7 separate regions of the Homo sapiens genome follow, and regions 2, 3, 4, 5, 6 and 7 are each linked to region 1. Evidence: promoter capture Hi-C in 16 types of primary human blood cells and fetal thymus (Javierre and others, 2016). All regions are on one chromosome and are shown on one strand. The core of a region is centred on a gene start or on the middle of the fragment in contact, and the rest is flanking DNA. Distances in the headings are between cores, read along the strand shown.

The links. Contacts are between HindIII fragments. The CHiCAGO score rates a contact against its expected background, and 5 or more counts as called.
Region 2: a fragment that was not itself captured here is called in contact with the fragment with the promoter of KLHL28 in region 1 in 1 of 17 cell types (total B cells); the score reaches 5.9 in total B cells.
Region 3: a contact is called between the fragment with the promoter of RALGAPA1 here and the fragment with the promoter of KLHL28 in region 1, in 5 of 17 cell types (naive B cells, total CD8 T cells, non-activated CD4 T cells and 2 more). The highest score is 17.8, in naive B cells.
Region 4: a fragment that was not itself captured here is called in contact with the fragment with the promoter of KLHL28 in region 1 in 2 of 17 cell types (non-activated CD4 T cells and total CD8 T cells); the score reaches 5.8 in non-activated CD4 T cells.
Region 5: a fragment that was not itself captured here is called in contact with the fragment with the promoter of KLHL28 in region 1 in 1 of 17 cell types (non-activated CD4 T cells); the score reaches 5.8 in non-activated CD4 T cells.
Region 6: a contact is called between a fragment that was not itself captured here and the fragment with the promoter of KLHL28 in region 1, in 1 of 17 cell types (fetal thymus). The highest score is 5.6, in fetal thymus.
Region 7: a fragment that was not itself captured here is called in contact with the fragment with the promoter of KLHL28 in region 1 in 1 of 17 cell types (naive CD8 T cells); the score reaches 6.7 in naive CD8 T cells.

The regions. Positions count from the first base shown.
Region 1 is chr14:44,959,865-44,963,960 of GRCh38, reverse strand. KLHL28 (kelch like family member 28) reads left to right here and starts at 2,014. Exons shown (of 5, transcript NM_017658.5): 1 at 2,014-2,115. TOGARAM1 (TOG array regulator of axonemal microtubules 1) reads right to left here and starts at 1,771. Exons shown (of 20, transcript NM_001308120.2): 1 at 1-1,771. The coding sequence starts at 1,539. RefSeq lists enhancers at 1,314-1,828, 1,478-2,287, 1,829-2,343, 2,858-2,947. The HindIII fragment of the contact is 5,188 bases long and covers 1,139-4,096 here.
Region 2 is chr14:35,043,973-35,048,068 of GRCh38, reverse strand. It overlaps FAM177A1 (family with sequence similarity 177 member A1), which reads right to left and starts at 1,797. Exons shown (of 5, transcript NM_173607.5): 1 at 1,441-1,797. The coding sequence starts at 1,605. RefSeq lists enhancers at 928-987, 1,088-1,357, 2,078-2,277 and a silencer at 1,608-1,957. The HindIII fragment of the contact is 2,045 bases long and covers 228-2,272 here.
Region 3 is chr14:35,807,160-35,811,255 of GRCh38, reverse strand. RALGAPA1 (Ral GTPase activating protein catalytic subunit alpha 1) reads left to right here and starts at 1,961. Exons shown (of 42, transcript NM_001346249.2): 1 at 1,961-2,526. The coding sequence starts at 2,421. RefSeq lists enhancers at 1,815-1,914, 1,751-2,311 and a silencer at 1,995-2,234. The HindIII fragment of the contact is 1,366 bases long and covers 645-2,010 here.
Region 4 is chr14:36,319,353-36,323,448 of GRCh38, reverse strand. MBIP (MAP3K12 binding inhibitory protein 1) reads left to right here and starts at 2,812. Exons shown (of 9, transcript NM_016586.3): 1 at 2,812-2,989. The coding sequence starts at 2,861. RefSeq lists enhancers at 2,414-2,463, 2,864-3,123. The HindIII fragment of the contact is 533 bases long and covers 1,914-2,446 here.
Region 5 is chr14:53,154,864-53,158,959 of GRCh38, reverse strand. It overlaps DDHD1-DT (DDHD1 divergent transcript), which reads right to left. Exons shown (of 3, transcript NR_110062.1): 2 at 2,387-2,717; 3 at 1,432-1,798. Among named protein-coding and RNA genes, the nearest start is that of DDHD1-DT, 3.6 kb to the right of the region's middle. The HindIII fragment of the contact is 2,163 bases long and covers 860-3,022 here.
Region 6 is chr14:52,701,751-52,705,846 of GRCh38, reverse strand. No RefSeq gene overlaps it. Among named protein-coding and RNA genes, the nearest start is that of PSMC6, 3.4 kb to the left of the region's middle. The HindIII fragment of the contact is 5,392 bases long and covers 1-4,096 here.
Region 7 is chr14:38,062,168-38,066,263 of GRCh38, reverse strand. No RefSeq gene overlaps it. Among named protein-coding and RNA genes, the nearest start is that of SSTR1, 140 kb to the left of the region's middle. The HindIII fragment of the contact is 578 bases long and covers 1,890-2,467 here.

The DNA of each region.
Region 1 (4,096 bases), core at 765-3,264:
AAAGGACAGTTTGGGCAAGTCAAAATCCTCACTAGGATAGGTCAGCAGGGAGCAGATGCAAATGTTCACCACCTCCTCTCTCACTCTGGAATGCTTATGTTTGAGATGTTCCAGGAGTAAACAAAGCACCTGCTGAGGTCCTACTTCCTTCATTAGCTTGAGGAAGATTTTCATGTATTCTTGTTTGATCACCAACTTGTTGTCCGCCAGCACTTTGACAGAAGCTGCTATAACTGGTCCCAAGAACTGCTGTACCTGCTCTCCAAGGCGAATAACCAGTAAATGCAGGACTTCAAGTGTGCCATGCACCACTTTGAAGTTAGAATCGTCTAACAAATTATATAGCAAACTAATGAAGCCAACAAGACTAGAATGAGGAGTAGAACTAGGGTTAAATTTTCCCAGCACCTGCTTTAGTTCTTCGACGGCCTGGGTCCGGTTCTTATAGTCTTCCTGATCCAATAATCGTGAATGCAGCTCCTGAGGAATAATCCCAAATTTAAGATTGCTGTTGGAAAGAGTCACTGCACAGGGAAGGGGATCTTCAGGAAATCCAGAGGCTTCAAGTTCCAAATAATAAGGAACCTGACTTCCAAACTGGGACTCCAGGCGGCGATTGTAGTGTCTCCTCAGGGCAGAGGGCAGACGAGAAATGTAAGATTGAAACCTGTCTTGGCCAAGTCGCTCCCCAATTTGTTGAAGTGCGGAGAAAGCTGTCTCAGATTCTTCTTCTGTCTCCTGATCACCAAGCTTTCGGGCTAGGGATATTATCACCTCGGTGAGATCCAGACCAAGCAACAAGTCCTCAGTAGTAAGCAAGATGGGAAGCAGTAGTGCTGTGGAAGCTCTAAGTCGGGCATCGGTACTTTCCAGTCCTTGTTGTATAAGCGTTCTCAGCACCTCTCCAGGACTACGTTTCAGACATATATGAAGGATCTGCAGCGCATCTTTCCGCAGGGCTGGATTCTCTTCCCGTAACGAGACAACTAGTTGAGGCAAAAGTGCTAAGCTAAAGGCCTCTTCAAGCTGGCCTGCCTCCCCCTGACCCCGGAGAACGTCCGAGAGAAGTTGCAAGCAGAGCCGCTTCTCATCACTACCTCCTTCCACAAGCACTCGGCCCAGTGCCCGATACAAAGCTTCCTTGCGTCGGGGGAAGCCAAGTCGACCGCCCCGCCGCGGCAAAGCAGCTTGCAAAGCCTGGAAGGCCTCAGAAGGATCCCGGGCAGTGCGGAGGAGTTGAAGGAGCCGAGTGTCCTCTTCATCTCCCCCTGACAAACCGCCTCCAGACTCAGACCAGCTGCTTGAGACTGCCTCCGAGGGCATCAAGAGGGCCGAGGCCAGAGGCGAAGTTGTAGTGGGGCAGGAACCGTGGTCCCCCGCAGCTCCACGGAAGTAGTAGTTTTTCTCTCCTCTCATAATGCCCCCAACTCGACTATCATCGGTCTCTGGGGCGGAAGGACGACTGCGGCTCTGGAGCCGATAGGTAGAGAGGACTGGAAAGGGCGGCAGCAGAAGCAGCGCGGAGGGGGCAGCCGCCATGCAGGGTTGTCAGGTGGTGGTGGTTGGAAGAAACCATTGCCGTCTCCAAAGGGCTCGATGGAGCCCAGACTTCCAGATCCTCTCCAAGCCCCAAGCTGCAGAAGAGGCAAAAGAACAGCTTCAGCCTGCCGCCAGGCCGCCCCCAACTCCGGGAGGCAGCCTCTGGCAAAATGGCCCCCGTCTGAGCCCTAGACCCCACAGCTGCCACCGGGCGTAACCAAGGGCACCACGTGACCAAACCGATTGCTTCCATGGTGATGTACCCAGCGCGGACCTCTTGACCCGGAAATCCACTTGCCGTGATGAATGCTGGGTTATGTAGTCCACGTCAGGTGTTGAGACTAGGCCAAAGTCTCCTGGAAGAGGAAGTCAGAACGTTGTAAACGCAGCTACAGCGGAGAAGGGAGGAGGGGTGAAGCCATTTGACGGATGTGACGCTTTCCTTGCTCTGGGCGGAAGTTGCCCGCCCCACCCGTAAGAGTTAGGGTTTGACCGGAGCTAGTGAGGATCCAGCCCAGGCTCCAGTTGTCCGCGGTTCCTCCTCCTGTCGCTGCCCGTGTGATTACTGAGACTCAGGTATTTTCCTTTTGCTGTCCTCCAGCGGTGCAGGCTTTGGCAGTGTTTTGCCCGAATGCCACTGGTGCTAGAGTAAGAGGCAAAGGACTGAGCGGAGCAGGTGGAAAGAGAGGCGACATCTTCTTGTGCAGGGCTCGTCACCCTTGTAAACGCGTTACTCTCTACCACCCTGAGTAACTGCGATCCTTTCCTCTTGCCATCTGCTTATCAGGACAGAAGATCTGGACCACGGCCAAGCTCACAAATCGGGTATTTTTTTTCAATTCCTGGTCTTTGGGGCCTTTATTCGCCTCCCCCTTCTCCTTTTGTCGACTTCTCTTAACCCTCCGGCCGCAGAGGGTTAATTTTTTTTTGTTTTTGTTTGTTTGTTTTTGGCAACGTTTCCTTACCCTCATCACTTTGCGTTTTCTTTACAACGTACATAATATGGAAATAGGTCTGTTTTTTTCCCCCTGTAGCTAACCGCCTCTCCCTTAGACGTTATCAAAATCTTTCCTTCTAATGCAGTTCCTCTGTGGGACTCTCCCCTAACCTCCGCCCCCTCCGTCTGCCGCCCTAGCCTCCCTGCAGGATCCTCAAGCGTCTCTGCAGCCTTTCAGTCTCCTAGAGACAGAGATTGCGAAGACAATTTCACTTGCGGTGGAAGTTCTTGGCATCATGGTTCTAAGAGAATTCTGCCTTGTGGATTTAGGAATGATAGTAGACATTTATTTATTTTAGGCGAACTGAGAATTTTGTGTGCATTTTCTCCTCATAAGTGATACTTAAACGGACACAGTGGAAGAGCTGGAGTGTCTAGTGTGAGCCTGAATGCTTTGGAGTGTGGAAGAGATATTTTTTTTTTTTGAAGGAATAATACTATTACTTTTGAATGACTCGTGCGAAAAGTCTAAGTTATCATTTGAAGACCCAAATTTATGCACTTCAAATGCAAGTATTCCTACCCTGCTCTGTACCAGGTGGGATTTCTCTTAAATACTTTTTAAAGTCTTGGAATAAATGAGTCACATATGCCAAACAGCTTTATAAATAATGCTCCCAGCTGATGCAAGTGCAAAAATAATTTCTGGATTTTTGCCTTAAAGTACGATTTGAATATCAGTTTTGTTTTGTTTTGTTTTTGGGGGGGTGGGGGTGGGGAATAGACTATAATGTAAATGAGGCTGTGTAAATATACATCCTATGTTTTGGTTTAAATTCTAGGCTGTTACTTTGGTTTTAATGAGCCATTTTCGTGTTTAAATGAATCTGCCTAAATTAGGTTTAGCTAGCATGTTTCATTTTAGGGACAGGTTAAAGACAGGGAGGTGAAAAACAAGAAATGATTGTAGCAGTTGTCAATGAGAAAGTGTCTGGTTCTCACAGTTCCAACCTAAGAAGCTCAAATGTGTAGACTTCTAGTCATGTATTGCCCAGACTTGAGGAACCCAGTTCAAACTAACCTAGACAATGATGTACACATTACAGTGCCAGTTTATGTTGGATCAGAATTTTCAAGTTGAAAATCCAGTGCACTCTTTCTTGTATCCAAGAACTTGGGAAGCCAAGTTAATAACTAGAGGTTGTGTGGTAATCATGGAATCACAGAAAAGGAACTTCGAAAGTCTTAAATGAGAGACGTGGATACTTAAGCAGTTATCATGCCCTTTTCCTGGGAACAAAGCAAGATGAGTCTTCCTTTTGATTCTTGTTTTTTTAGATCCCTGTGGATCACTATACATTACAGATTGCAATTTATTTTTTATCTGTTACATTTTGTCTCTTTGATTGAAGACTTAGAAGAGGCATTAGTCTCCATAGTGGATATTTAGGAAATGGGACTTCATCAGCATCACGTCTTACTGATTATCTTTTAGAGTTATTTTGTGGAACATAAATCTCATTCATTGAGTGTGTATTCTTTTTATTACGAAGCAGATTTTTTTTAATCTTTGGAAATCTAGGAATTTCTCGTATATTGACTTAAAAAGCCTTTTGTATT
Region 2 (4,096 bases), core at 1-2,500, 9.9 Mb after region 1:
TATAGAGTTTGGTATGTGGGAAAGTTGTGTTTTTTGTTTTTGGGGTTTCTTTAGTTTTTTATTTAAGAGATGGGTTCTTGCTCTGTTGCCCAGGCTGGATAAGCTTTTGTTAATGCAAACGACATCTTATACTATAAGAGATACACAGAGATATACTCACAGTTTGGGGGAAATGTCTTACTAACATTCAGGTACTTAGTCTCAAAAATGAAGCTACTGAAAAAGCTTCATTCTCATGGAGGATGGGAAGAGTTACATACATGAGCAACTCAAGGGTTTTTTTTTTGTTGTTGTTGTTGTTGTTGTTGTTGTTGCTGTTTTGAGACGGAGTCTCGCTCTGTCTCCAGCCTGGAGTGCAGTGGCGTGATCTCGGCTCACTGCAACCTCCACCTCCAGGGTTCAAGCAATTCTCCTGCCTCAGCCTCCCGAGTAGCTGGGACTACAGGCGAGCGCCACCACGCCCAGCTAATTTTTGTATTTTTAGTAGAGAAGGGGTTTCACCATGTTGGCCAGACTGGTCTTGAACTCCTGACCTCAGGTGATCCACCCGCCTTGGCCTCCCAAAGTGTCTTTTTGTCTAATACTGAAAAGTTGCAAGAAACGTTAACTCTCTAAACCAGCGCTGTCCAATACAGTAACCACTAGCCACATGTGGCTAATGCGCACTTGAAATGTGGTCAGCCAGAACTGCGATATGCTATGCGTGTAAAATGCACCCAGGATTTAAAAGACTTAGAAAAGACTCCAAAAGAGAATGCAAATACTTCATTAATAACTTTCATAGTAATTTTAGGTTGAAATTGTTTTGATAAATTAGGTTAAATAAGATATGCTATTAAAATTAATATCGGTTTCACTTTTTTAAAACGTGCCTACTGGAAAATTTTAAATTACAATTTTCAATGCAGCTTGCATTCTATTTATGTTGGACAGCGCAGCTCGGAGCCTTAGTTGCCTCGGCGGTGAAATGGGGCTAACACCCACCTCGAGCGGTTACTGTAAGGATCCAGTGAATTAAAGCTGGTAAACGTTTGGCATATGCCAAGCAAAGGGCAGATGCCCAGGCAGGCGCTCGCACCAGAAGAGACTGAGAAGTGGTTGAAGCCGCCCTCACCTGGCTTCCAGCTACTGCAAGGACAGCCTTTGGGGGACACGCCTTTCTTCTTCCTCTGGTAGACCAGAAGCTGGACTATCACCCCAGGAACCCGAGGCCGCCCCAGAGTCTGCTGTGCTGCCAGCCAAGGGGTTGGTGAGTGAGGCGGGGGGCGCTCCTTCCCACAAGCTGGTCTCAGTGAGCAGAAACAGGGGTGCAGTGAGGAGGAACTCCAAAGCTGGGGCGGCCTGCTCGGAGGACGGCCGCGCAGGCTAAAAGAGCGGCCCGCGGAGAAGGCAAGGAGGCGGCTCGGCTCCCCGGACGTCAGCCTCGGCGGCCCCACCTACCTGCCCTGCAGATTCCCCGAATGCCGCGGCGGCCGCAGCTCCCGAGGCTGCGACGGCTTCTCCTCGTTCCACACCGCCCACTGGCTCCTGGTCCATCGTCGTCGCCACCACAGGGCTGCTGGCGCTGGTGAGAAAGAGGGTAATGGCCGGTAAGCCCACTTCCATCCTTGGTCTCCCCGCCCAGTCGCTGGCCGAGCCAGGCTGTCGGGAAGTGGGACTCACCCGCCCAGCGCCCGCCTCGCGCCGCGCCTAGCCAAGTCTCTGAGAAGGGGACTCGCCGGCCTGAGGGGCGGGGCCAGCCCGCGCCTCGCCTAGCCCGCCGGGCTCCGCACCCCGAGAGCTGGCCAACTGCAGTCTGGGAGGCGCAACTACCGGCTCGCGCGGGGCGGGGCGGGGCGGGGCGGGTCCTTGCGGGGCGTCGCTTCCGGCCAAGCAAGCATCCAGAGCTCGTGGATCCCCGCCTGGCACCGCCTGTGACGTCATTTCTGGTACGTGTACCTGAAGCCTGGCGTCTCGACCTCGGCGCAGCCCGTCACCAGCGGCGTCTGGGGCAGTCACCCCGCAGGACCTCGGTTTTTGCACTTGTAAAATGAAGACAGCTGTGTCGTTGTACTTCAAAGGCTAGTGATGGGATGTGGTTGCTGAAAAATGTAAAATGTACGGCTCGTGCTGCACTTTCCATTCCAAACGTGGGTGACAGTCCAGCCAAAATACCCTCGAAAGAAGAACCCCAGGCGTGATATTTGCTTACTCTTGTCTGAAATACTTAAGTATAACTGTAGAAAGTGTTAAGTGAAAAGACCTGAAGGAGAGCAAAGGGCAGTAGTAAGCTTCCATCTTGACAAATGTAAGGAATGTTTTATCTGTGTCTTAAAGTCGTGTGCGTATGTTAGAGGGGGCGTCCCAGATTTTTTCCGTCTTTCGCAATGTTCAACGAAAGTAAAAAATCATGCAATTACTGCATGACTTCAACATCAAACAAGTCTGAGGTTCTGCAGGTAAATGGTATATTGTTGTTTTAGCATGAAAGTTTTCACAAATATGTAGGGGGCAAAACCAAAACATACATTATTTTGGCTATGGGAGGCTTCATTTGATACTTTAAATTCCATTTTCATACTAGTCTCAATTCAGAAATGCTCCCTAAAGTTGTATGACCTTGTAAATGTTTTTCATCATAGCAACAGCAGGCCCAAATATTAAATATTCCTTTCTCTTCTGTGCCAAAGTTCTTCTCCTTACCCTCTGCCTAATGTTATTGTACACTTCCTATTCTATGTATAACTGGAACCTAAAAACAAAACCAAAAACTTTAAAAAACAAATAATCATTTGAAAACCATCTACGCCTTAAAAACTAGTTGGAAATCCATATTGCTCTCTATCCTGGTAATAAAATCAAGTTAGGTTGCTGCTGAAGTAAACAAGTTAGTACCTGATCTGACTCTGTATGGTGGCATCAGCAGGGAGTTGAGACAGTCCAAAACAGCAAAACCAAACTCGGCCATAAATTGAAAACAAAAATAAAGAACCAATTGTTAAGACTTCATGAATTGGCATTCATAAACAACACAGTTCTGCATTATATGTATTCAAAATCTCTTCCTTCTTACTGGCAAGCAGGGCAATCAACAATCTTTATTACTAAAACTTTGTGGGATATTTATAAATGCATGATTTTATTTTCCAAAGTGGCAATTAAATATCAAATTACAATTTTCTTTTTCTTTTTTTTCTTTTTTTTTTTTTTTGAGATGGGGTCTCACCCACGCTGGAGTGCAATGGCGCAATCTTGGCGCACTGCAACATCCGCCTCCCGGGTTCAAGCGATTCCCCCACCTCAGCCTGCCAAGTAGCTGGGATTACAGTTGTGCACTACCACGCCCGGCTAATTTTTGTATTGTTAGTAGAGACGGGGTTTCACCATGTTGGCCAGGCTAGTATCGAACTTCCGACCTCAGATGATCCACCCACCTCAGCCTCCCAAAGTGCTGGGATTACAGGCGTGAGCCACCACGCCTGGCCTCAAATTACAATTTTCATTGCCGAAGCAGAATATATTTTCACAGTTTACATGTGTATTTCTTAGTTTACTGAAAATTCAAAGTACAAGTTACATTCTAACGTGAACTGGAAGTATTTCCTAAAAAGTTATTTTTAACACAAATATCCAATTGAAGAGCAGTTTATTACAAATCAACAACTCGGGCTGGGCACGGTGGCTCACGCCTGTAATCCCAGCACTTTGGGAGGCGGAGGCGGGTGGATCACGAGGTCAGGAGATCGAGACCATCCTGGCTAACACGGTGAAACCCCGTCTCTACTATAAAATACAAAAAATTAGCCGGGCGTGGTGGCGGGCGCCTGTAGTCCCAGCTACTCGGGAGGCTGGGGCAGGAGAATGGCGTGAACCCGGGAGGCGGAGCTTGCAGTGAGCCGAGACCGCGCCACTGCACTCCAGCCTGGGCGACAGAGCGAGACTCCGTCTCAAAAAAACAAAAACAAAACAAATCAACAACTCAAAGCAACATAAAAGCATAGAAATTCTAATGGTTTTATTTTGGACATTTATATTTTTGTCATTATTTCCAAACTGTTATAGCTCAACCAAAAGTAGGCACCAAGGCAATGTGCCAAATTTTTCCTTCTTTCACTTT
Region 3 (4,096 bases), core at 712-3,211, 9.2 Mb after region 1:
CCAGCCATATAATTATTTTTAACGATATGTTACATTTTTATTCTCTAAAATTATGTCACTCATTTGCCAAACATTTACTGAGTACTTGCGCAAGAGAAAGGAAGGGACAGTGACATTCGTTCTTCTATTCGACACAGATTTATTGAGCCTATCTTGCAAAGAGCACTTTGCAAGAAGACTGGGATACAACTTTAGACAATCTATACAGTCTCTGTCCTCAGGGAGTTTACAGTCTCATGAAAGAGAGAATCTGTAAACAGTTACACAAATTACTGTATTTAAATTCTATGAAGGAAAGGAATGTTATGAGATGTGTCATTATAGATGTAACTTTCAATACTTTTCTCACCTAATTATCACAATCACTGATGTAGTTTACAAATGAGGAAAATCAGGCTGAGACTGAACTACATGCCAAGGGCCCGAGAGCAAGTAAGTCCTTGCAAGTGAAAAACAGAATGTCTAATTTAGGTCTATGTAATTCTAAAGATCATGCTTGAAAACATTGTATTATTGCCTAAATTTCACGAAACTGTGAGGGACAGACCTTATTTTGATTTTATTAATAAGAAAACTGATGCTGAGAGGAACTAGAACTAAAATCTCTTGAACAATCCCCTTATTTTTCTATTATGTTATAAGCTTCCTCAAAACATGTATGGCTTGTAAGTTTGATGATACAAACAAACCCTACATGTAGAAACTGAATAAATTTTTTGTACTTTAAAAAATATAGGATTGTTGTTGAAACAAACTACCATTAAGCAAAGCACTATATTTTAACATAATTTTGGCAAATGTCTTACATCTCTCTTCTTTGCTGATTTTGTTATTTTTCTATGTTAATCACATATTTCATTGGACAAGTCTATTGCTATGGGTGAGAACATAGAAGGAAACAGTTCAAACAAGCAAACTCACTCTTTATCAAATTATTTTGTGGAGGAAATGTTCCTGGCCAGGCGCAGTGGCCTCACGCCTGTAATCCCAGCAGTTTGGTAGGCTGAGGCGGGCGGATCACTTGAGTCTAGGAGTTTTAGACCAGTTTGGGCAAAATGGCGAAACCCCGTCTCTACAAAAAACACAAAAATTAGCTGGATGTGGTGGCGCGCACCTGTGGTCCCAGCTACTCGGTAGGCTGAGGTGGGAGCATCACCTGAGCCTGGGAGTTCGAGGCTTCAGTGAGCTGAGATCACACCACTGCACTTCTGCCTGGGACACAGAGACCCTGTCTGGAAAGAAAAGGAAAAAGGAAAAAAAAAAAAAGGGTTCCAATAAAAATTTCAATTTATGTCATTCAGAATTTCACGGATTTTTTTCAGCTATTGCAGATTCTTCAGATGACTCCATCAATGTAATAAGAACCTTGAATTCTTCTTTGCAGAGGAAAAACTGACAATATATTCATCTTTATGTGGGGTGCAGATGGGGAAAAGATTTTTAAAAGCACAATAGAAAAGGAAAGCAAGATTACTTTTATTTAAAAAACCTAGATACCTCTGCTTAAGCCTTTCTGTTGTCAAGTTGTTTGCAGCAAAAAACAGGGATATTGCAAATAGAAAAAATATGAAAGAAATCACATACATAGTGCAGGAAATATTATTAGTAATAGATTTAGGACAGAATAAATTGCCCAACTGTAACTTCGTTTATCTTTCTGCTAGAGGATCTGGTGGCCACAACAACTTATGCACATTTTCAAAGATAAATCATGGACATATTTAATAAAGATTACTTCTCTTTGCTTATTACTATCATTTGGCTTACAATGGAGCACGCAGTAACTACCTTCCTTGCCTTTCTTGAGATTCTCCTTTGGCTGCTTACACAGGAAACCAAGGCGGGGAGTGCCACGGGTGATCTCATGCTGGCATGACGTCAAGAACTCTTGACGTCAGAAGGCGGTTGCCACGGACACCGTTCGCCACCGACGGCAGAGTCGTGAAACCCCATCACTACCACACTCGTCTCCGTTTCGGCCTCTGCAGGGTGTAAGCTGCTAAAGAAGCTTCAACCTTAAGGGGGCCTCAGGGAGAGAGTTGTGCTCCTGCCGCCGAGAGCTCCACCTTCGTGGCTCTGGGTCCGGGGCCCCGGCCTGTGGCGGCGAGCGGCGGCCGCTGGAGACGAGCGGCGGCGGCAGGCGGCCAGCCCGGGTCTGCCTCGCTCCGTGCAGGGCCGGGAGAGGGATCCGCCATATTGGAGCTGGGGCCGAAGGTGCCTTGGAGCCGCGGCGCGAGGCGGGTGGAGGTGGCGGCCCTGGCCTGGATCGGGAAGGAGTCGGCTCTGCCCTGGCCCGCAAGGCTGGGGAGCTAATGAGCCTCTCTGGCTAGTCTCCTCCCCGTCCACTCCCTCCACTTTCTGCCGCCGGGACCCGGCTGGGAGCCGGCTGTGGCAGTGGCAGTGGCAGTGGCAGCGACAGGATGTTCTCCAAGAAGCCGCACGGGGACGTGAAGAAGTCCACCCAGAAGGTGCTAGACACCAAGAAGGACGCACTGACTCGCCTCAAGCACCTGCGCATCGTCATCGGTGAGGAGCGAGGGGTGGCAGCGCCGAGGCCTGGGTTGCCCGGCCTTCCCTCTCCTGGGAGCCCCTGCGGACTCTCTCTCGGGACCTGGCGCGGTGCAGGAGAGGGCAAATCGTAGCCTCTGCGGAGACGCGGGAGGGTGAATAATTCGGAGAAGCGAAAACTTGGCAGTTGGCAGCACTGATTACTGTTAACACAGTAATCTAATTTTGAGTTAATAGTCTGAACTTATTTTTTAAAATTGGTATTACTCTAAAAACTTAGATCTTTAAGACTTTGTGGGGAGACCTGGCGTTGTGGATAATGGTGTTTATAGGATATGTTTGCCAGATGACTACTGCCAACCCCACCCAAGTAAAAAGAAAAATAAAATCCTCTCTCAGACAATATAAACCTTAATCTTTCAAGTTTCTTGGCAGATGAAGACAAGGAGGTAGCAGTTACACCTCTTTGGGAAGTGGGCGGTTCCCAAAAAGCTGTGGGAAGGAGCCCCGCCCTTTTGTTAATGCACCTTGTTCATCACTAGTCATTTAGAGGGAGAACTATTATAGGTAGTTTAACTCATCCTTTGCTTCTCGAGAATTGTATATAATTCTATTTTTAATTAAAAATATTTTTTTTATCGTCTGCCCTTAAGTTCTGTTTTGCTGGTAGACCAAACAGTGCTCTAAGTTTTGAATATAATGTTAATCGACTCTTTTGAATACTTAGTCATTTGGTAGGCTGATAAAGGCTGTAATAATACTTATGGAACATCTGGTCCAGTAGTTGGATTTTTTAGATGAAGACATTTGAGATGAAAAGGAAAATTATTTCGCCTGTGTTGATACTTAGAGTTAATGGTGGAACTGGCTGAAGAAGATGCATTCATCCAGATGCCTGAATCCTAGTTCAGAGTTTATCTCGAGCTGTCCTCCTGATGCGTATTTGTTTTGGAAAGTGATGTTTATTTAGTGAAAAAAGTAAGTCCCTTATTTGAGGTACATGTTTCTCTAGTCTATTGTTTACTCATACCACCAGGATACCACCAATATTACCCAACATTTCTATGATGCTTTACTGTTTACAGTGATTTCACGTAAATTATGATAATCCTTGCAATAACTCTATAGGTAGATGATATTATTCTCCATTTTTTACCAACAAAAAAGCTGAAGTTTGGGAACATCGAGTAGTCAGCCAGCTACCAGGAGGCTGAGTCAGAATTGGAACCCAGATTTTGTGTCTCTAGTTTGTTTTTTTACTCTTTCTACATTTATGACAGCTAATCTTTGTCACAAGTAAATTGTATTTATTCCAGTGGAGTAGTAAGAAAGCAGTTAATCCAGTTTAGCGCTATAAAAAGCTCAGTTTTCAAGAAAATGTAAAGCTTCTAAATATAGTGGAGATTGTGATCTTTTTGTTTTCATTCTTCTTGAGAGTTAAGCCATTGAAATAAAGATTTAGCCGAGAATAGGACACAGTAAGTTAATGTGTGAATGCAGGCGAGGGATTCACAGGTAATGGCAGTTTGAAATTGAACACTTAATGGAGCTTGACACCTACTTGGGATAAGCTGTAGGTTAGGTAATG
Region 4 (4,096 bases), core at 931-3,430, 8.6 Mb after region 1:
CATAAAAGCAGTTTCAGAAGCACTAAGCACCAGATGGTTTGTGGCAGAAAATGAGGCTGGAAATTTAGGCAAAGGCCACATCATAAGAGCCTTCATGTCATTCTAAAGAACTTGGACTTATGCAGCAGGTGATGGGGAGACAGGGACGACAAATACCATTTATTTTACTTTTTCTGCATTGAAATAAAATCTGTATTATCATATATGCAACAAACATCAGTTGAGCCCTTCTAATACCTCAGGTATTTTGCTGGGAACTGGGTTATTCAATAGAGTTATGCCATTAAAGCTCACCATAAAAGACATTTTTGTTGATAAGGTAAATAGCCTAGATTTCATTTATAGTCTCTATCCTCCCAATTGATTCTTGGCATAAGCCTGCTGGACAGTATTTCTAACTCTGTTGCTAACGCGAACACCAACACTTTGAATCATTTCTGCCAGGCAGCAGATTTTTCAGCAACCCACTTTATAAACTGTAATTAGTTTTCCATAAAGAGCAAATTATTCCCTTTATTCCCTTTCTAAATTTCATAGCGCATATTATACTTTTGTTATACATACATACACACATACAATATCTACAAATTTCTATTTTGAGTTGGCCCAAAGGAATCCAAATCTTTTCAGGCTACAAACTCTTCTATTTAAAATAGAATTTTCTATTATAAAATAAGAAAATGAGAAAAATTTCCAAAATGAAGGTAATAGGCATCAAGAAGAGTAAGAAAGGTCCTTAGAAAGAAGAAAGAATGCACAAAAGAGTTAACAAATTTTAAGTACTACTGGTTGAGTATCCCTTATCTGAACTACTTGGGACCAGAAGTGTCTCAGATTTCGGATTTTTTTTAGATTTTGGAATATTTGCATATATATAATAAGCTATCTTGGGGATGGGACCCAAATCTAAACACAAAATTCATTTATGTTTCATGTATACTTTATACACATAACTTGAAGGTAATTTTATATAATGTTTTAAATAATTCTGTGCATGAAACAAAGTTTTGACTACATTTTAACTGTGACCTGTTATGTCGGATCAGGTGTGAAATTTTCCACTTGTGGTACTGGCACTCAAAAAGTTTCAAATTTTGGATCATTTTGGATTTTGAATTTTCAGATTAGGAATGCTCAACCTGTACCTAAGTAAAGAATACTAAGATACAAGTGCAGGTCTGGATATCAAATCACAGAATTACATGGAGAAGCAATACACAGATCAAATGGCCATCAGTTAATTCTGTATTAGAGGCTCAAAAGAACAAGTAAAACTTGAAAATTCAAAATCAATGATGGCAAAGAAAGGAATAGCAGCACCTTGTTAAAGACAACATTTTTTAAATATACAAAGCATATTCCCAAATGTGTTGCATATCAGTGTTCTCCATATTTGAAAAAATATGAAACACCTCAATGAAAACAAATGATCTGAAACTGATTGCTAATTTGGTACAAAACAAAAACTTACAGTTACCCCATTACCATGCTTGAATAAGAAGGTTGCTCAATTTGAGACTGGACATTGTGAAGTATTTTTCTGCCTGTAGAAATAGGCTGGAATGTCAGTTGTATATCTTGCTGCCAACAAGGGAACAGAAAAGATTTCCCAAGATTCTGTCAAGCCTGGTGATCCCATTTGTCTTTGGAAATGAAAGCCTAATTAAGAGACTCCCTAGGGACAGGTCAAAGGAGTTTTTATCCCCATCGTCCTTATCTTAGTTCCTTGATGCATTAGTCCTTCCCTTTAATTTAGTCTACCCTAAAACTAAAGAATACACATTGTGCAAGTTTCCACCTTTGCTTTCTCTACTGTAAATGCATTAGACTATTAACAGAATTACGAGTTTTAAATCCCACCTTCCTTATCTCTAAGCTGATGTTGATTTCTTAAAGTGTTTTTGAATAAAGCTTAACACTAAAAATTATTGTAATACTTTAATTGGATAACACTTTTTAAAAATATCGGAGTCTGACTAAAAGATTACAAAACCCCACAAACATCGTTATAATAAAGCTATTATGATAAATAATACTTTGTAAAATTTGAATTCGGTTTTATGTCCTAATTTCAAAGATTGTGGTTGCATGATATTATTTATCCAGGTTAAATTCCTGTTGGAATTATATTGACAGTGTTTCATTTCTTTGAAACAATTTTAGGGTTAAGCGTCTCTACAGTTAAAACAGAGAATATCAACTGTAGTCCCAGTTACTCAGGAGGCTGAGGCAGGAGAACCGCTTGAACCTGGGAGGCGGAGGTTGCAGTGAGCCGAGGTAGTGCCACTGCACTCCAGTCTGGGCGACAGAGTGAGACTCTGTCTCCAAAACAACAACAACAAACTTGAAGAGATGAAAATGTTCTATCCAATCATGATAATTCCGTGTGAGTTTTCCAATGTTTAGAAACACGTGTGGGCACCACTCCATCCCTGACCAGCAAGCTTCCTCCAGACCCACTCCACACCGCCATGTTAAAATGTCAACTTTTACTTTTTGGACTCAAACTACAAAATTTAACTATGTCTCCTCTTACCAAGATTCACAATGAACACCTAGGAGTCAAGGTAGGCTTCATAACGCTAAAGAGACCACGACTCTAATGACCACCCCAAACACAGCATTCCAGCCTAGCTGTGGTCTGCAATTACCCACTTCAGAGCCTCGGCGCAATGTCACAGCTGCAACTGATTGGTGTAACGTGCTTGTCATTCACATAGAGAGGGTGGGGCCTCAAAGCCCGATCTAAACCAGACTCCGTGTCTTACGTCATCGCCAAGCGACTAAAGCTGGAAGGGAGGGGGCGGGGTTGTGAGCAAATCTTGGTGGTGGTGGTGGTGGGGCGGCCTGAGAAGATATCATGGCTGCTGCCACGGAGCTTAATCGCCCGAGCAGCGGTGACAGGAACCTGGAGCGAAGATGCAGACCCAACCTCTCCCGAGAGGTGCTCTACGAAATCTTTCGCTCCCTACACACCCTGGTTGGACAGGTGAGAGGTGGCCTGAGGGACTGGGAATATGGAAACCATCCGGTCCCTCCTCGCCATTCTTTTTCTCTAGCAGAGGCCGGGGGCAGCTAGGCCTGCAGAGGTGTGGGATGCGGTCCCGAAGCCGAGGTGTGGAAGGAGCCCGGGCCCAGCCTCCTCGGTCGGAGTGAGGAGGACGGCGGTACCGGTTGCAGAGTCGTTTACCTTGCAGCTGTCCTCCCCAAGAGTGGGTGAGGTTGGCCTAAGTGAAAACCCGGCTCCGAGAGAGGCAGGCTTGGAGAGAATGAATGTGGAAAAGCTTCACTGCGAGTTTAGGAGGCGCTTAGCGTTCAGGGTCCTTTTTCCTCCAACTTACTCTTTATGGGAATTGGTTGGTCAGTAGGCCTGAGATTTATAGAAAAGCGCGCGCTTATTAGCTTTTTTTGGTGGGGGAGGGAGTAATTTGTTCTTATGAGTTACTTGGTTTTGTTTATTTCTTTTTTCCTTCGGGCTGTTTTGCGCATCTATAATCCTTTCAAATGGGGAGAAAAGTAAAAGGAATTCATTTAAAATACTTCTAGCGTAAAATGCTGTTGGCGTTAGAACTGTCGTTATTTAACTATTAACTAGTTTAACTGGCTGATAAATCGCTTTTGCAGAAATGTCATAGTAAAATTGGTTTTAAATTGAAATGGGCTTCTTCGATCAAGTCACTGTTTCGTTTCATGGTGTAAAATTCAAGTTTTAAATGAGAAACAATTTAAAAGTATGCTTGTTTACCTGCCTTTTAAAAGGAAATATTTTCTATCTTACATAGACCATTTTCTAGCCGTAAAAGTTTGTTTTGGGGCTGGTACTAGCGCAAGTGGACAAAGCAGGCATTTGTGTCAAAGATAATGGTAAATTCCTATGAAAATAGAACATTTGTCTGATTTGTGAAAATTATTTTTAAAGCCTTGAGTAGATGGAGAATCAGTCTTTTAAGAAGTTACTATTTTTAAAAATCGTAGTATGTTGTGTCTTACAAAGAACATTACTGTAAGTTAAACGGTTTTATGAAATGACGCAGTTATTAATGGAGTCTGCTTAAAGATATAACTTTTAAATTCAGTTGTTTGCCAAGTACTTACC
Region 5 (4,096 bases), core at 692-3,191, 8.2 Mb before region 1:
ATTGTTAACCTCAGAAGCAGAGTAATATGAATAATCAAATGAAGGACTATTTGTGAGTTCTTACAGATGATTAAGAATTAGTATGAATCTGATGTTCTAAACTTTAGAAGTGAAGGAGTCACAAATGCAGGGCCATTGTTACTAATTTCTCATATTTAAAATATATGTTGCTGAATCTTGAAGATAAAATTTCTGAAGAATTTTGCTTTTCTACCATGCCATTTACATTTATTAATGGTATTATCCTAATGGCTATCTAGTATGGTTCAAGTAACCCAATGGGAGACCCACAAAAAGAATTTGGGAGCTTGTGAGTCTAGAATCATATATATGTATATATAATGATTATTATATGTATGATTATTATATATATATATATATTTTTTTTTTTTTTGAGATGGAGTTTCGCTCTTGTTGCCCAGGCTGGAGTGCAGTAGCATGATCTCGGCTCACTGCAACCTCTGCCTCCTGGGTTCATGTGATTCTCCTGCCTCAGTCTCCCGAGCAGCTGGGATTACAAGCACGCACCACCGCGACCAGTTAATTTTGTATTTTTAGTAGAGATGGGGTTTCACCATGTTGGGCAGGCTGGTCTCGAACTCCTGACCTTGTGATCCACCCGCCTTGGCCTCCCAAAGTGCTGGGATTACAGGCGTGAGCCACCGTACCCGGCCTAGAATCATATTTTATTCAAGCTGAAACTTTAAATGAGTTGCTGACTTATGATGTAAGGATAAACATACTTTTTTAAGCAGCAGTTGCAAAAACAGTAAATCAATTCTGCTGTTCAGTCTTTTAAATGCTCAGCAAATTACTGACAGTTACATTAGTGGAAATAAATCCTTATTGGAACAAAGCTTCTCTTTTCTTTCCTTTTTAACTTATATATGACAATACACATACGCAAGGTGCTGCCTCTAAGTCTTGCTCAGCACCATATTATGATTATCAATTACTTTTTATTGAAGGCTCATATGAGTCTGTGAACAAATATGTACTTTCAACTTACCTGTGGAGGTAGGAAAAAATCCTAGAGCGCAGAAGTCATTAAATACATCTACAATGGGTGCATAATGTGGGCCTCACAGCAGCCAATAGCTATGGCCCAACTCACTTTTCTATAATGAAAGGGCAGGAAGATGGCCAAATCTGTCTGATATAAACAAGCTGATGAGGATTTTGTGGCTGCCTCCACAGAGTATGCATCAATGTTGTATTGATTTATACTTTCTTTCATTTGAATATATACCTTCACCACCACTGACCTTTATTTCCAAAAGGAATAGAAAACATTTTTATAGGGTTTTGGTAAGTATGGTTTTGTGGATAGGCCTCTTATAAATCTTTAAATAAATGCATTTCATAATTCTAAATTTTAAGTGTAATTTCAGTTAAAAATAAAAACACAATAGCACTAGACAATAAATATTTGTTGAATGAATAAATGGAAGGATTAATGACTTTATTCATCATGAATCCCTACGTTATTTCTGCCCACCTTGCTTCCTTTGGATTGTAATTTGATTTTGTTTATTGATCTGTCTGTAGGGAGAGAATGACCCCATGGTAGTGATGCAGCTATAGTGGCATTACAATTATATTCCTCATAGGAATTTAAAAGTTAGCATTTTGGTTTTATTTATAGACACCACTAGACTGTGAATGCTTCACTGTAGAGCCTAGCACAGTGCCTGAAATGTCCAGCGAATGTTCCCTGCTTCAGTCTAGGTTGTTGTTTCATTTGGTCAGGGCATCAGATAAAACACTCTCATCTTTAAAAACCAGATAAGTAGTAATCCTAAAAATAAAAAGTGAAATAAAATTTAAGTTGTGGTGGATGGCTTATCGAACACGAGATACAGCAGATGGGGGCATGGTTATGTCTGCCCTCTTTCTTTCATTCTAAATAGGGGTCTTCCATCATACACTTTGGATGAAGCTATTTCAAGTGCAGGTGTGGGATGTTGGCTCAGGATAAATTACTTGGCATCAAGCATTCCCTAATGTTACAAACGTGAAGACAGGTTAAAATGAACAACATGGTGGCTTGTGCCTGTAATACTAGCTACTGGGGAGGCTGCAGCAGGAGGATTACTTGAGGCCAGGAGTTCAAGGCTGCAGTGAGCTAGGATTGGCCTACTATACTTCACCCGGGCAACAGCAAGACCCTATCTCTAAAATAATAAAATGAATAACAGGGACAAACTTTAAGAAAAGAAGAAAAGGGAAAGACAGCACACAATTGCACGAAAACATCTTTGAGACGCGGGAGGAGATGGCCGTTGTTACCAGATAGCTCTTGCCATATGCCTAATGGGGACAGGAAGGTGGTAGGATACACAGACGAGCTGTTTTAGTCTTTTGTAGTACAAACCAACTGGCTTACCTTTTTTTTTTTCTGCACACCAATAACTCCGTCAGGCTTGATTCCACATGCACCTGTTTCTTGCGGCAGCATGGCCCAGTAATGCCAGAAGTCTGAATCAATCACACTTATTTGCCTTATGTGAAAGAGGCCTTGTCTTGCGTAATTATTAAAATACAATGGAATGCTTTACATAGAGCCATGGAAGTTCAGATAATGCTGTGTCCATTGTACACACTAATGATGTAGAGTGGTGAGGAGCCACCTGACACCTATTCTGGCAGGTGGGGACTAGAATAGATGCCCCAACCCATCTCCCTCTGGTCAGGATCATATTACCTGAGAAGATGATCTAGAAAACAAAAGGAGAGCAGGAACAGGAGGCATTAGATAAAACATGACTTTTTAAAGCAGAAAAGTTGAGAAAAACAACATCATGACCTTTGCCTTGCTATGATGGCTAGGGAGTAAAAAGGAAATAAACACATGCAGTCACATGAAGTTAGATATTGTGCTCTCAAATATCTTCTGAGCACTGTCAGCCTGGGACCCAGTATATGGGTCTGCCATAGCCCAAGCTCACTTCCAAGGGGCAGAAGCAATCTCAGCCCACAAATGTTGATTGACATCTCCCCTCAACAAGGTCTAGACCAAGCTTGCCCAACCTGCAGCCCATGGGCCATATGCAGCCCAGGATGGCTTTGAATGTGGCCCAACACAAATTCATAAACTTTCTTAAAACAGTACGAGATTTTTTCGTGATTTTTTAAGCTCATCAGCTATCATCAGTGTTAGTGTATTTTATGTGTGACCCAAGACAATTCTTCTTCTTCCGATGTGGCCCAGGAAAGCCAAAAGATTACACACACCTGGCTCTAGACCAAGATAACCAGGTCAGCAGAGAATCTAGGATTCCCTTCTTCTGCCACCTGGGTTGTGTTGAGAATCAACATTTCCTTCAAAAATGATCACTCTACCTAAAAGGAGTGTGGCATTTCCCCAGTGAACCACAAGAGGATAATCTTCTCAAAATAACCAAATAAGCACACTTAAAAGTAATAGAAACATTCATTCAATGCAAAGCAGAAAGTACTTTTTTTTTTTTTCCAAGACGGAGTCTCGCTCTGTAGCCCAGGCTGGAGTGCAGTGGCGTGATCTCGGCTCACTACAAGCTCCGCCTCCCGGGTTCACGCCATTCTCCTGCCTCAGCCTCCCGAGTGGCTGGGACTACAGGTGCCCGCCACCACGTCCAGCTAATTTTTTGTATTTTTTTTTAGTAGAGACAGGATTTCACCATGTTAGCCAGGATGGTCTCGATCTCCTGACCTCGTGATCTGCCCGCCTTGGCCTCCCAAAATGCGGGGATTACAGGCGTGAGCCACCGCGCCCGGCCTTAGTACTTCTTTTTTTTTTTTTTTTTTTTTTTTTTTTTTTTTTTAACAGAGGATAATGTTAACGGAAATTGTGTAGTCAAGAGTTAAAATCTGGCCAAAATAATCTGACCAGATAGTTATATAGTTAGGCTACATTCTATCAAGAAACATAAAGGAATAGAGATATTTTAAATGTTGTGATATTCCTTATTTATAATCCCCTTCATAGTACTTTTCATACTGTACTATAATATAATGTATCTGTTTACTTGTCTGTATCCCCCTCTAGGCTGTAAGTTCCTTGAAGAAAGAAAGAACTCTCTCCCATTCTCTCTTATAGTAGAAGTTAGCATAGAGG
Region 6 (4,096 bases), core at 795-3,294, 7.7 Mb before region 1:
GGCCAGGCTGGTCTCCAACTACTGACCTCAAGTGATCCGCCCGCCTCAGCCTCCCAAAGTGTTGGGATTACAGGCGTGAGCCACGACGCCTGGCCAACTTTCAGATTTTTGTGATTTGGGGAAAATTACATACTCCCTCAATATCTCTGTAAAATGATCATAATAATTGCACTTATCTAATGGGGTTGTCATGAGTATTAAATAGGATAATGTGCCTAAACACAACATCTGCCACATGGCATGTACTCAATAGTGTTCTTTTGAATAGATATTTATTTTAAGGGTAGTAATGACTCCAATTTTTGCATTACAGGTCCTCATTGCTATACCTCTTGCTATCATTGTTCCTGGGGACAATTAATTGTTGTCCAAAAAACATGAGTAAAATTCTCCAAATAGATTCCATTTGGTCTCACCTTATCCAATGGCCATGAATGTTTGAGTTTAAATATATACATCCTAAATATACAAATAAAGTACAAATTTTTGTAAATTAATGACCCAAAGTCACATAAAGGATGCCTTCAAATTTATTAGGAACAATTCTCATGGGTATTGTGTGAATATTCCATTCTATTTTTCTTTTTTTTTTTTTTTTTTTTTTTTTTTTTTGAGTTGGAGTCTTGCTCTGTCGCCAGGCTGGAGTGCAGTGGCGCGATCTCGGCTCACTGCAACCTCCACCTCCCGGGTTCAAGTGATTCTCCTGCCTCAGCCTCCCGAACAGCTGGGATTACAGGCGCACACCACCACGCCCAGCTAATTTTTGTATTTTTAGTAGAGACAGGGTTTCACCATGTTGGTCAGGCTGGTCTCGATCTCCTGACCTCGTGATCCGCCCGCCTCGGCCTCCCAAAGTGCTGGGATTACAGGCATGAGCCACCGCGTTCGGCCAATTTTTCTAAATGTGACTGGGTTCTTGCAGTATACAATGAACAAGGAAGCTGTATGGGGCAGGGATAGTCCCTTCTCCCACTCAGTTGCAACTACTCTGGTCAAACTAGTCCATCCATACCAAAACATGTCACCTCTGACATCAAGAAGTAAAGAAGAGAGGACAAGGCAGAGAAAGAAAGCTCAGTATGGCTCAATTTAAAATATTTATGAGCACATACTGATAGGTTATTTTAACATTAATCACATCAATATTTTAAAGTCCCTTAACCCTTGTTCTTTTTCTTTTACCCATCTGGCAGCATTTCAACTTCAGAAGAATCTTCTATTTTCCCCATGCCTACACTAGCCCTGTTACTTTTTTGTTTGTTTGTTTGTTTTTTGTTTTGAGCAGGAGTCTCGCTCTGTCGCCCAGGCTGGAGTGCAGTGGTGCGATCTCGGCTTGCTGCAACCTCCGCCTCCCGGGATCAAGGGATTCTCCTGCTTCAGCTTCCAGAGTAGCTGGGACTACAGGTATGCGCCACCACACCCGACTAATTTTTGTATTTTTGGTAGAGATGGGGTTTCACCATGTTGGTCAGGCTGGTCTTAAATTCCTGAGCTCAGGTGATCCACCCGCCTTAGCCTCCCAAAGTGCTGGGATTACAGGTGTGAGCCACCGCGCCTGGCCGTTACGTTTTTATACATGCCTATAAGACTGTATTCCTCTCCATCTGAAAACGTAGCTCAACTTGTAATTATATATTCTTAAACGTGATTAAATGTTTAGAGTCTTTTCTCTGCAGTGGACTGTAACCCCTCGGAAAACAAGGACTATGACTATTTATTTCCCCTGATTGGATCCCCAGTGTCTAGCACAGTGTCTGAAATAAAAGAGATATATGTATATTGAATGAATGAATATCTCAGGCACTAAGATAGGTAAGCAGAGTTATAAAGAGGCTAAGAAATGTGACCAGTACTCAAGGAACTTAAAATATCATAAAGTGAAAACAGAAAAATACAAATGTGACCAAAAAATGAAAATTAGAACATATAGGGTGGAAGAGATAAAAGAAGGTAGGGCATATCTTAGTTTATTTCGGAGTCATTAAAAGTGATGTCATAACAAACGGTAATGAGATTGATGTAGACCTTCAAAAATCATGTAAGGATAGTTTCTCAATCTATTTTCCTATAACTTGGCACAGATGAGTGTGGTCATTTTAAAATATGTACACAAATTATTTGACACTTTCCACTTCAAGAGGTGGAGCATAATTCCCCTTCCTTGGACCTAGTGACTTGCTCTTGATAAATAAAGTGGAAGTGACAGTGCGCAACGATGGAGACTAGATCACAAAAAGTGTTGAGCCTTCCTTTTGACTCTCGCTTGGATAACTCCCTGTGGGAGAGCCAGTTGTCATGGCATGAGGACACATCAACAGATCTATGGAGAGACCTACATAGCAAGGAACAGCCATCCAGGAACTTAAGGCCTCCTGCCAACAGCCATATGAGTGAGCAGTTCCTGGCAGAGATCCTCCGGCTCTAGGCAAGCCTTTATTACTGCAGCCCTAGTATTGATTGCAACACCATGAGAGACTGAGTCACACAACTCAGTTCAGCTGCTCCTGAATTGCTGGTCCCTAAAAACCATGAGATGATAAATGTTTGTTGTTTGAAGCCACTTAGTTTTGGGGTAATTTGTTACACAGTGATCGATAACAAATACAACAAGAACAGATTTATTTTTAAGAGAAAAATTGGGAAACAGTGTCAAATAGGCAAGTAGCAACTACTTTTGCTCCCACATTGGCCACAACACTTAAGTTTTTAGAAATTTTTCATCCCAAATGTCTACTTCCAAATACCTATGAAAATGCACTTAAATTAGGCCAGGCGCAGTGGCTCACACCTATAATCCTAGCACTTTGGGAGGCTGAGGCGGGTGGATCACAAGGTCAGGAGATCAAGACCATCCTGGCTAACGTGGTGAAACCCCGTCTCTACTAAAAAATACAAAAAAATTAGCCGGGTGTGATAGCGGGCGCCTGTAGTCCCAGCTACTCTGGAGGCTGAGGCAGGAGAATGGCGTGAACCCAGGAGGTGGAGGTTGCAGTGAGCCGAGTTTGCGCAACTGCACTCCAGCCTGGGCGACAGAGTGAAACTCTATCTCAAAAAAAAAAAAAAAAAAAAGAAAAGAAAAGAAAAAAAGAAAGAAAATGCACTTAAATTAATGTGTCTGTGTCTAAGCAGTGAGATGTTGAGGTAGGAATAGAAGTTAGAGTTCAGGCCGGGCATGGTGGCTCATGCCTGTAATCCCAGCACTTTGGGAGGCCGAGGCAGGTGGATCATTTGAGGTCAGGAGTTCAAGACCAGTCTGACCAACATGGTGAAACCCCGTCTCTACTAAAAATACAAAAAAATTAGCCAGAAGTGGTGGCACATGCCTGTAATCCCAGCTACTCAGGAGGCTGAGGTAGGATAATTGCTTGAACCTGGGAGACAGAGGTTGCAGTCTCTGGAGCCAAGATCTTGCCACTATACTCCAGCCTGGGAGACACTGCAAGATTCCAACTCAAATAATAATAAAAATAAAATAAAAAAATAAATGAAGAAGTTAGAGTTTCTAGGCTTCTGGGGTGTGCTTTTAATAAAGTAATACCATAAAGAGAGCTTTTAAAAAAAGTACTAAAGATTAAATTGAAAAAGAGGTGCCTATTGTCTCACTTTTCTCTAATCCCGAGTTCCACTCCCTTAATTTTTAAATGTGTTTCTACTATACTTACCTTTGTATTTCTAAATAATATCCTTATGCTGCTATTTCTTGATATATAAATTTTGGGATTTATCTTCTGACCAAATTAGGAAGATAAAGATTTAGCACCCTTACTCCAGACTCCCACTTTTCCTACTTGCATCCTCCATGAATGCAATATATGTAAATTTTGGTTAAATTGCTATCCAATATTTGTGTCATTGTGGGGCTATGTATGTCAAGCAGTATACTATTTGCTTTATTAAAAAATTTTTTTTTGGCCGGGCACGGTGGCTCACACCTGTAATCCCAGCACTTCGGGAGGCTGAGGCAGGCGGATCACGAGGTCAGGAGATTGAGACCATCCTGGCTAACACGGTGAAACCCCATCTCTACTAAAAATACAAAAAATTAGCCGGGTGTGGTGGCAGGCGCCTGTAGTCCCAGCTACTCGGGAGGCTGAGG
Region 7 (4,096 bases), core at 929-3,428, 6.9 Mb after region 1:
TGAGGAGAGGGAGTCAAGTTGGTGGAACTGAGGGAAAGCAAAAAGAGAAAGCAGATAAGCTCTAAGTCTGCCTTTCTTCTTGGTCCAGGATATGTAGCCCTCCTGTGCAAATAACACAATCTTCCTGTACCCAGCTATCACCAGATCCTCAGCTGACTAAAATTTAAAAAAAGTTAGTTAGGATACTGCAATTTTGGCATTATTAGAACTGCACAAAGCCCTCCTCAGCACACAGCATAAGCACCATCCTATAAAATTCCCAGGAAGCCTTTGTCTCTTTGCAGTTAGCTCCTCTCTTGCTAACCTGTCTGTAACCACTCTTGCAACATATTTCCATACTTTCTCTATTAAATCTGCCTTTCTTTACCTACAGCTGTCTTGTAAATTATTCTTACCGCCACACCACTGGCCTCAAATAGTTGCTGATCACCCATGACAACACTGATGCAGACAAACCCCCAAATTGGTGCTCAATCCAGAGGGTTCTTGGCTTCATTCAGGAAATAATTCAAGAGACAGCAGTGAAAGAAAGCAAGTTTATTAAAGATTACAACAACAGTGTACAGCAAAATGGCTGTCCATAGACAGAGCGGGGCTCTCCCATAGGCAGAATTGCCCAGAGTAGCAGTGTACAGCAAAGTGGCTGCTCTATAGGCAGAGCAGGCCAGAGCAGTAGCAGCAGTCCCAAAAAGGAGGAGGAGGAGAAGGAGGAGCAGCATCAGCGTACAGCAACAGTAGCAGTGCAGAGTAGCAGTTCCTGTAGATTGGTAGCTAGCTATGTTTATACCCACTCTTAGCTGTATACTAATTAAGGAGTGAATTATTCAGAATTTTCTAGAAAATGGGTGAGGGAGTTCCAAAACCATATAAAATAACTGCTGGGTTGTTGTCATGGCATTTGTAAACTGTCATGGTGCTGGTGGGAGTGTCTTTATGCTAATGAGCAGTGAGAGCAACTAGAGATCACTTTTGTCACCATGTGGTGGTTTCCACCGGTTTCTTCACTGCATCCTGTTTTGATCATCAGGCTCGTGATTGGTGCTGGGAAAATAAGTCCCGTTCATCTCCTACCTGAATACTGCTGCAGTCAATCTGATAACCAAGAGGGCCACTGAGTGACTAAAGGGCAGGTAGACAGCCTGGATACGCTGGACAAAGGGAGGATTCTTGTCCAGTGTGGACAATGCAAGGCAGTGTGAGATTTTATCACACTATTCAGAACAGCATGCAACTAAAACATTATTTCCAGAAATTTCTATTTAATATTATCAAACCATGATTGACCTTGGGTAACTGAAAATGCAGAAAGCGAAACTACAGATAAGGGAGTATGGCCATATAAGCAAATGATGGAGAAAGGAAAGATATTTCAATACATTTTGATGAGACAACCAGTTAGCAATTTAAACTAAAAGTATAGCTGAATTATTCCCTCACTCTTTATACCAAAATAAATTCCAGCTGATTAATTTTGAAAGAAAAAAATGAAGCCATAACTGTAATAAAGAATATATCCCAATTTTTCAAAATTCTGAAGTTAAAGAACTTTTTTAAAATCAAAACTATAAAATCCACAACCCATAAATATATGTCGATAAATTAGTTCCTATGAAGATTTAAAACTTTTCTGTTGTTAGAACCAAATAGTATAAACAAGGACAAAAGTTTTTTAAAAAGTGGGGGAGAGAATATTTGCAATATATTGAAAGATAAAATACTATTTTCCTTAAAATATAAAACTCTCAGGCTAGGAGAAGTGGCTCATGCCTATAATCCCAACACTTCAGAAGGCTGAGGTTGGAGGATCACTTGAAGCCAGGAGTTCACGATCAGCCCTAACAACAAAGTGAGACCCCCATCTCTACAAAAAACAAAAATGACACAAAGCTTTATGTAGAAATTATATATGTGTATACGTTTTATATATATGCACATATATAAAACTTCTAGAAATCAATAAGAAAAATACCCCAAATCTTTTAGAAATATAATAGGCATTTCACAGAAAAATAAACACATATGGCTTATAAGCAGATGGAAGGATGCCCAATTCTTCTCATAAATAAATGCAAATTAAGGCAAAATAAAGATAGTATTTTTTAGCTGCCAAATTGGCAATAGTTTGATAGTATACAGCCTTGGCAAGTTCGTGAGGAAACAGGAATTATCACACACAGACAGTGAATGTACACATTATCACAACTTCTTTGGAAGGGAATTTGACAGTAACCATAAAAACTAAAAATGTGGATATCCTCCAACACAGAAATTTGATTTTGAGGAATGTATCCCATCGATACTCACATGAGTGCAACTGCAATGTACAAAAATGTTTTAAAGCATAGTTATATACATAAACAAACATTGGGAGCAACCTAAGTATAATCATAATTAGACTGTTAAGTGCATGAGACTCTATTTTCTGGGTGGTTTCACCACTTACTAGTTTTGAAACCCTGAACAAGCTTCCTCAGCACTCTTGCCCCAGGTTCCTCATCTGTAAAGCTGTGCCAAAAGAAATACTGTACATGTTTCATTGGATAGTTAAGAGTAAATGAGTGAACACATAAGTCAAAAGGCAAAAAATACACTTTAGCTTAAAGATCTTAACTTGGCTTTATTTGCAAGTCCAGAATCCAGCAACAATTCATTCTATAAAGTATAATATGTGTTCCAATGAGCTGAGTAGAATAAGTTGGCTTTATAGACAGAGAGCTGAAGAAAGCAGAAACAAAGAACAAAAAGCAGACATGTTATTTCAAAGTTACTTTCCTTGTAAGGTGCAAACAGGGAAATAAAACAATAGAAAAATGACCCATTAGTTAACTTCAGGTAATCCCAGGTTACTTTTTGTTGTAAGGATTAAAGGCAGAGGGAATTTCATTGCCATGCAGATTAAAACTAACCTATTTGGGAAATTTGGTTATCTCTCTCTCCTGATTTCTGGAAAGGACACATAACAACTCAGTTTCCATGTGGTGAGTAGAACCTCAGCATGACGGACTCCATTCTGGTTTTTAGTCTGATCTCTTGGGGTCTAGTGCAGGAGCTCAGTCCAAAATAAGGACCTCCTGTAATTTTTATTTAACACATATAAAGTGCTTATGACACAATATGTGTCTCATTTATATGTGTATATGTGTATATAAATTACATACATATACACATGTATATATGTATACATATGTAAAAGTATCTACACTAGTGTAATATTAAAAAATTATGTTAAAACAGTAAAAATTCATTCTTAATATGGAAGTATCTCTGAGATATATTGTTACATTCAAACAATAAGCCAAATAACAGAGTGGGTTGTGCTCTCATGTATGTTCAAAAAGATATGTATTCACATAAAGCTCCAAAATGATCCATGGGCAACTAAAGGTAATACACCTTTCCTACAAGATACATATGAAACTGCTTGACAGTTGTTGCCCATGTAGAAAGGGTCTGATATGATTTGACTGTGTTCCCACCCAAATCTCATCTTGAATTATAAGGCCCACCATTCCCATATGTTATGGGAGGAACCCGGTGGGAGGTAATTGAATCATGGGAAGGAATCTTTCCCATGCTGTTCTCATCATAGTGAATAAGTCTCTTGAGATCTGATAGTTTTAAATATGGGAGTTTCCCTGCACAATCTCTCTCTCTCTCTCTGCCTGCTGCCATCCATGTGAGATGTGACTTGTTTCTCCTTGCCTTGTGCCATGATTGTGAGGCCTCCCCAGCCACATGGAGCTGTAAGTTCATTAAACCTCTTCTTTTGTAAATTGCCCAGTCTCAGGTATGTCTTTATCAGCAGTGTGAAAATGGATTAATACAATAAATTGGTACCAGGAGTGGGGTGCTACTGAAAAGATACCCTAAAATGTGGAAGCGACTTTGGAACTGGGTAACAAGCAGAGGTTGGAACAGTTTGGAGGGCTCAGGAAAAAAAAAAGATAATGTGAGAAAGTCTGGAACTTTCTAGAGATTTTTTGAATACCTTTAACCAAAATGCCGATAATGATAAAGACAATGAAATCCAGGCTGAGGTGGTCTCAGATGGAGATGAGAGACTTGTTGGGAACTGCAGCAAAGGTGAATCTTATTA